2 separate regions of the Homo sapiens genome follow, and region 2 is linked to region 1. The links are contacts of gene promoters, found by promoter capture Hi-C in blood cells and fetal thymus (Javierre and others, 2016). All regions are on one chromosome and are shown on one strand. Each heading gives the region's core, a stretch centred on a gene start or on the middle of the fragment in contact. The rest is flanking DNA. Distances are from core to core; before and after follow the strand shown.

Evidence for each region. The method cuts DNA at HindIII sites, captures the fragments that hold promoters and counts their contacts. A CHiCAGO score of 5 or more calls a contact.
Region 2: a fragment that was not itself captured here is called in contact with the fragment with the promoter of ERH in region 1 in 1 of 17 cell types (neutrophils); the score reaches 6.6 in neutrophils.

Annotation. Positions count from the first base shown.
Region 1 is chr14:69,396,724-69,399,728 of GRCh38, forward strand. It overlaps ERH (ERH mRNA splicing and mitosis factor), which reads right to left and starts at 1,576. Exons shown (of 4, transcript NM_004450.3): 1 at 1,508-1,576. The coding sequence starts at 1,510. It overlaps SLC39A9 (solute carrier family 39 member 9), which reads left to right and starts at 1,969. Exons shown (of 7, transcript NM_018375.5): 1 at 1,969-2,742. The coding sequence starts at 2,647. RefSeq lists enhancers at 576-1,084, 1,085-1,592, 1,794-2,993, 1,922-2,261 and a silencer at 1,585-1,825. The HindIII fragment of the contact is 2,829 bases long and covers 1-1,744 here.
Region 2 is chr14:67,383,022-67,386,026 of GRCh38, forward strand. It overlaps EIF2S1 (eukaryotic translation initiation factor 2 subunit alpha), which reads left to right. Exons shown (of 8, transcript NM_004094.5): 8 at 294-3,005. The coding sequence ends at 419. It also overlaps a transcript of GPHN not described here. Among named protein-coding and RNA genes, the nearest start is that of EIF2S1, 24 kb to the left of the region's middle. The HindIII fragment of the contact is 7,072 bases long and covers 1-3,005 here.

The sequences.
Region 1 (3,005 bases), core at 326-2,825:
TTCAGAGGGTTTGACATAAAAACGGAACTTGGTGACAAGAGACGAAGGATTAACTCTCACCTGTAATAACCTGAGCAGTCAAAGCCTTTGTTAAATCGATTTAAAAGCCACAGAAAGCATCATATTAGATTATTTGTTATACAGAAGTCTTTGTAAGCTAGCTACTCAAAAAGTTTCAACGAGTCATTTAAGAAAAAATAATTTTGTAGAAACCACGTGCATTCTTGCAACAGAGGTTGCCCTATACACTAGCTATCTCAACTGCTACTATAATAATTGTATTCCAATTCTAATGCAAATTAAAGGACTAATTTGAAAGGGTAAGAATGGAAAAAGCTATACAGCATGTTGCTTTTTATATCTAGTCTTAAAATGAACACCGGGCAAAGTTTACTATTTTCAGTACTTACTGCCCAAAGACAAGGATTAAAAATCACTAAGAACATAACATGATACATTTTAAAAACTGTGGTCAAGTGGTTATCATTTTTAAATGGCAATGCTTTCCTGCTCAAATTCTTTACAGATTATACCACCTCTCAAGCCAGTTTTGGTCACTTTCTTCGAATTGGAGCTTACTGATCATCCCGGTTGGGTTCTAATAGAGCTGGTCTCTGAGCTGAGCCTACTTTTCAGCCTCCAGCCCCAAGAGGATATAAATACAGATAAGTACAGGATCGAGGGCTGAGGGACGCGCCACACGCAATACCTAGAGGTCTCAAAAACAGGAAAAAAAAAAAAAAGGCAGAGCACAGGAAAACGAAAGCTGAAAAAACACTGCAAAGCAAATACGTCCTCTCCTGGCCCACATGCTGGGTATAGCTGGATCTGTCAGCTTCGAGAATAGTTAGACAACCCTGGCCCATTGTTCCTACAGCAGGCTAGAGCATTTGGAGGGAAAAATACCATATCCGGCAGGGCCCGGTGGCTCACGCCTGTAATCCCAGCACTTTGGGATGCCGAGGCGGGTGGATTGCTTGAGGTCAGGAGTTCGAGACCAGCCTGGCCAACATGGTGAAACGCCGTCTCTGCTAAAATAAAAAAATTAGCCGAGCGAGGTGGCGGGCGCCTGTAATCCCAGCTACTAGGGAGGCTGAGACAGGAGAATTGCTTCAACCCAGGAGGCAGAGGTTGCAGGGGTCTGAGATCCCGCCACTGCACTCCAGCCTGGGCGATAGAGTGAGACTCTCTATCTCAAAAAACAAAACACCTCCCCCACGTCTCCCTCTACCGAGTAACAATCGGGAGAGAGTTCATCCTCAGGCCCAAGGCACGCCGGACCCGAGCGAGCAGGCGGGCGCGCAACCGCAGGGCGGACCGGGGCTCCGAGGCCTAGAGTCAGGCCTGGCGTCCCTGCGGCGGGAAGAAGGGTCAATCCACCGACTAGAGTGGCGGGGAGCATCACGCGGCGCTGCATGGGGCTCGTGGGGAGGGGAAAACGTATGGGGCTGGGGTCGCTCTGGAGGCCGGGGACTCGGACTCGGGTAGCCGCGGAGGCCTTTCTCACCATCGCGCCAAACTCTCTTCGCTACAGCAGCTGCCGACACCGCCGCCGTTACACGAGCTTAACTACAACGCCGCTAACAGCCAATCCTCGCGAGAGGAGCCGCCGGAAGTCGTCGAAAGTGCAACGCAAAAGAGCCTTTTGGATCATAGAGGCACAGTCACTTCCGGCAGCTAGAGCAGCTACTGACTCTGTTTCAGCCATCTTCGATAAAGGCAAAAAGGTAAGGGAAAGTTTCCAAGCTTTAGGAAGAATTATTTTTTTTCAAGACGCTGTCTTCCGTACTTTCGTTATTAAACATACGGCTCAAGTGATCACCGGTATAGACAGTGACATCAGACATCTTTCATTAGCCCTACTCAAAAATGGCGGCAACGTAAGTATCCTGGGCCGGAGGTCGGTTGTAACCCGGAAGTGCCTTTGTAAAGGAGGGGGTGGTTAGACAATCCGGAAGTGGATGGAATGAAGAGATGCCACTTGGCGGCCATGGCAGCTGTAGTATCGGCGACTCCGGGTCAAGGCCCGGTCGAGTGCAGTACCATGGGCAGCACCGGGTATAGGGCAGAGACAGCTTTGTGTCAACTTTGCTGCTGAACCCCTAGGACCCATCGTTAGAGACCTGCAGGACTCCTTTCCTCATCCCAGGCTCGGAGGAGAGTTTGCTGGGACTGGTGGGCTGGTTTCCTGCTCTGGGGGGCGGATCACCTTCGGGGCCGCCTCTTGGAGACAGGGGCGCCTAGGGAACGAACAGGTTCGCTTGAGTCACTTACCCGCCGCCGCCTAAGACATTGTGCCACCCTCAATCCGACAATCGAAGAAATCGATCATTCGCACATTTTCCCCATTGACTTTTCCCATCTCTGTTAACCCACGAGAATCTAATGACTGGCATCTGAGAACCCAGAGCCTGGGACCTTAGATTGCTGTAAGCTTTCTCTGGTGCTAATATCAGCAAAAAGGGTCTGTTGCCGGGTACGTTCAAGAGGAAGGTGCCTCGTGAACACATCTGCTGGTGGGAAGGCCTAAAGAACTGGAAAGCCCACTCTCTTGGAACCACCACACCTGTTTAAAGAACCTAAGCACCATTTAAAGCCACTGGAAATTTGTTGTCTAGTGGTTGTGGGTGAATAAAGGAGGGCAGAATGGATGATTTCATCTCCATTAGCCTGCTGTCTCTGGCTATGTTGGTGGGATGTTACGTGGCCGGAATCATTCCCTTGGCTGTTAATTTCTCAGAGGTAAGAAATTCTCAATTTTCTGTCAGCTGTCAGGATGGCTGTGAGATAGTAGTTTTAGTTGCAAAGGGAAGCTGCTTCCCTAGTTAAATCTCAAAGCTGAAGGTCTCATTAAGAAAGACTATCTTTTTTAAAAGATACATGACACTTAATAATAGAAAGAAACCTCATATTCATTAGTGGAATTCTTAACCTGGGGTGGATAGATATTCCACGGAAGATCCTGGAGTATTCTGAATCCCCTAGAATTGCTTACAAAAATTTGA
Region 2 (3,005 bases), core at 166-2,665, 2.0 Mb before region 1:
TTGAAAGATACAGCCATTGGGGTTATTTCATGTTTTCAGTTTTAGCTTATAAAAATGACAGAAAATAATTTTCCATTTTAATACATACATCCTTTTTCTATACTATTCTCATAAGTTTCACCTCTTATTTATGTAATGGAATTTATTGCTGATAAGTCACTCAAAAGTGAACAGATATGACAGAGTTGTTAGAAAAGTGTTAAAGAGAGAAAACATTAGGCAGTAATAGTATTGAAATTAAATTTGTATAGTATTTACTACTTCAGTTTGAAATTATACCTCTGCTTCCACAGCCCAAAGTGGTCACAGATACAGATGAGACTGAACTTGCGAGGCAGATGGAGAGGCTTGAAAGAGAAAATGCCGAAGTGGATGGAGATGATGATGCAGAAGAAATGGAAGCCAAAGCTGAAGATTAACTTTGTGGGAAACAGAGTCCAATTTAAGGAACACAGAGCAGCGCTTCCTGGCTGTAAATCCTAGACTTGAAAGTTTTCCAGTATTGAAAACTTCAAAGCTGAATATTTTTTATTTCTAAGTATTTAAATGTTCTAACAGATCAGAACATGAAATGCCCTCCTAAATGTCAGCTGTTGTCACACAGTAGCTCCAACACTTTGAGCATTTTTAAGGGAGTGGCCTCATTTCACTAGAGACAAATCTTTAAGAATAGTTCTAAAATTGGGCTTGTGATTTCCATTTCTGATGTCTCCAGATTGGCACCCCTTTCTAGTTCAATGCCTCACGAGATTTGCCAGGGGCATCCAAGGCAAACAATCCCAATCTTTCTATATAAAATGTATTCAAGCAAACATCAAATAAATTTCTGGGATATTTAACTATAGGCTTCTTCCTTCTTGTCACCAGTTAAAAGCATTTTAATACTAAGACCCTAATTCTTTTATCTTTATTTTAGTCTTGATGTGGAACTGTAGGAGCAGGTGAATAAAGGATCTCTATAACAGATCCTTTCAAAAGAAGAGTTTTAGAGAAAATAAATTTAACTTTAACCACAGTGAAAGTTGACCCTTAGCGGGACAAAGCCTTAAAATGCATTGAAAGAATTAGATCGGTTCTGTGCCTTTTATCTATTTGAGATTGATGACAACCTGTGTGAGAGAATTTATCACACCACGTCCTTATTGGAATAATAAGCTACTTGCCTTGAGTTTATAATTCAGGGTGGTAAAGTATGTTTTTAAATTTTAAAAAGCAGCTGCATTTTTTATTTAGTTGGAATATCACCCAATTTTTTATTTTTATTGCTATTAAAATATCCACTAGATGCCACCTAGAGCTCCAGTTCTTTATAACAAAACAGGGATCTGTTTGAACACTTACTGTTGTTTTTTTTTTTTTACATGTTTCCATCATTTCTGTCTTTAAGAACTAATTCGTACATAATAAGTTTCATAGGTAACACATTATTTGAAGTTACAGCTACAGTAGTCAGGTGTAGAAAATCTTGAGTTGCTTTGGTCTGCTTGTCTTCATAAATTTATTCTCTTATGATACTTGAGGTACCAGTTGTATTTAATTTTATTCATTATCCCTAGATAGCTATTAAGATACTTAGATTAGACCTAACCCACCATAGTCAATCCAAGACTAGACTACTCAATATTAAAGGGTCTGGAAAATAGAAGAGTGTGTTGGGCAGGTAGTTTGTACCATTTATGAAGGTTTGTTCCTTTGTTAAATTTAGCAGCCTGTACTAGCTTTTGAAATCCAGAAGTTTTAACTTCCAGTGGCTGGTTTCTGAGAGAGTGCCATGATTGCTAGCCAGCATTCCATATTGGGAATATGTAGAGGAGAACCTGGATGTACTTAAGAGTGGCATATAATTTTCACTTCTGTCTGTTGAGGCATCAAAAAAACAAGTTTAGAAAGCTGGCAACATGAAGAATGCATTCAAAATATAACAGGTGCTTCTTTGTTGTACGCAGAGGAATTTTTTCTTTTGATTTTGTTTACTGAAATTTGTTATACTTCAAAAGCCATAACTTGAAAAATACTGGTGGCGTCGATGGTGAGTGATTTTTATCCCACGTGGGCCTTTTGCTCAGTTCCATGGCAATTTTGTAAATTGACCCTAGCCAGAGAATAGATCAGTATTTCACTGATACCACGAGGAAAAGAACAAACAAAACTTAAAAGTATTCATACACCTTGCTAACCTAAAAGACAGCAGGGACAAGATACATATGAGGACAAGGTATACACCCAGTTCTGAATAACTTGAAGAACAGGCTTGGCAAAGAAGTAAGTTTATCCAAATCTTGAATTTCTGCCAGGCATGGTAGCTCATGCCTGTAACCCTGGCACTTAAGGGGCCAAGGCAGGAGGATCACTTGAGGCCAGTGAGCTGTGATCACTCCAGTGCACTCGAGCCTGGGTGACAGGGCAAGACCCTGTCTCAAAAAAAAAAAAAAAAACCAAAAATCTTGAATCTCCCATCAAAGCCTTTTCATTAAAAATACAATTTCATCTACTCCCTACTGTACCTTTCACTGATGTCAAGTGGCTATCAATTCATATAGCTGAAAATTAGTGATAGTTTGGGTCTCATTTATGCATAAATTAATTGAAAATCAGTAATGGCCAGGAAGAAATATGAATATTCAAACCACTTTTTTCTTTTTTTTTTTTTTTTTTTGGCAAATGGTGTTATATTGCCTGGGCAGGTCTCGAAATCCTGGGCTCAAGCTATCCTCCTGCCTCTGCCTCTGTAAGAGTGTGAGCCACCATGCCCCACCCAAACCATTTTTCATATCAGTTATAGCAAAACAAGACAAACCAGTTCTTAATAATGTTCAAAGTTGGACCCATAGAGACATGCTAAGCACTACATCATGCTAAGAAGAACAGTTATTACTCAGCTGCCATACTTCAGCCATTCTACTTTTACACCAAGAACAAAATGGCTAGAGATTTTTTTAAAAATACAAATGCCAGTACCTTGCCGAGACTTGTTCACTGATTTGCCCCAACCCCAAGGTAATGGT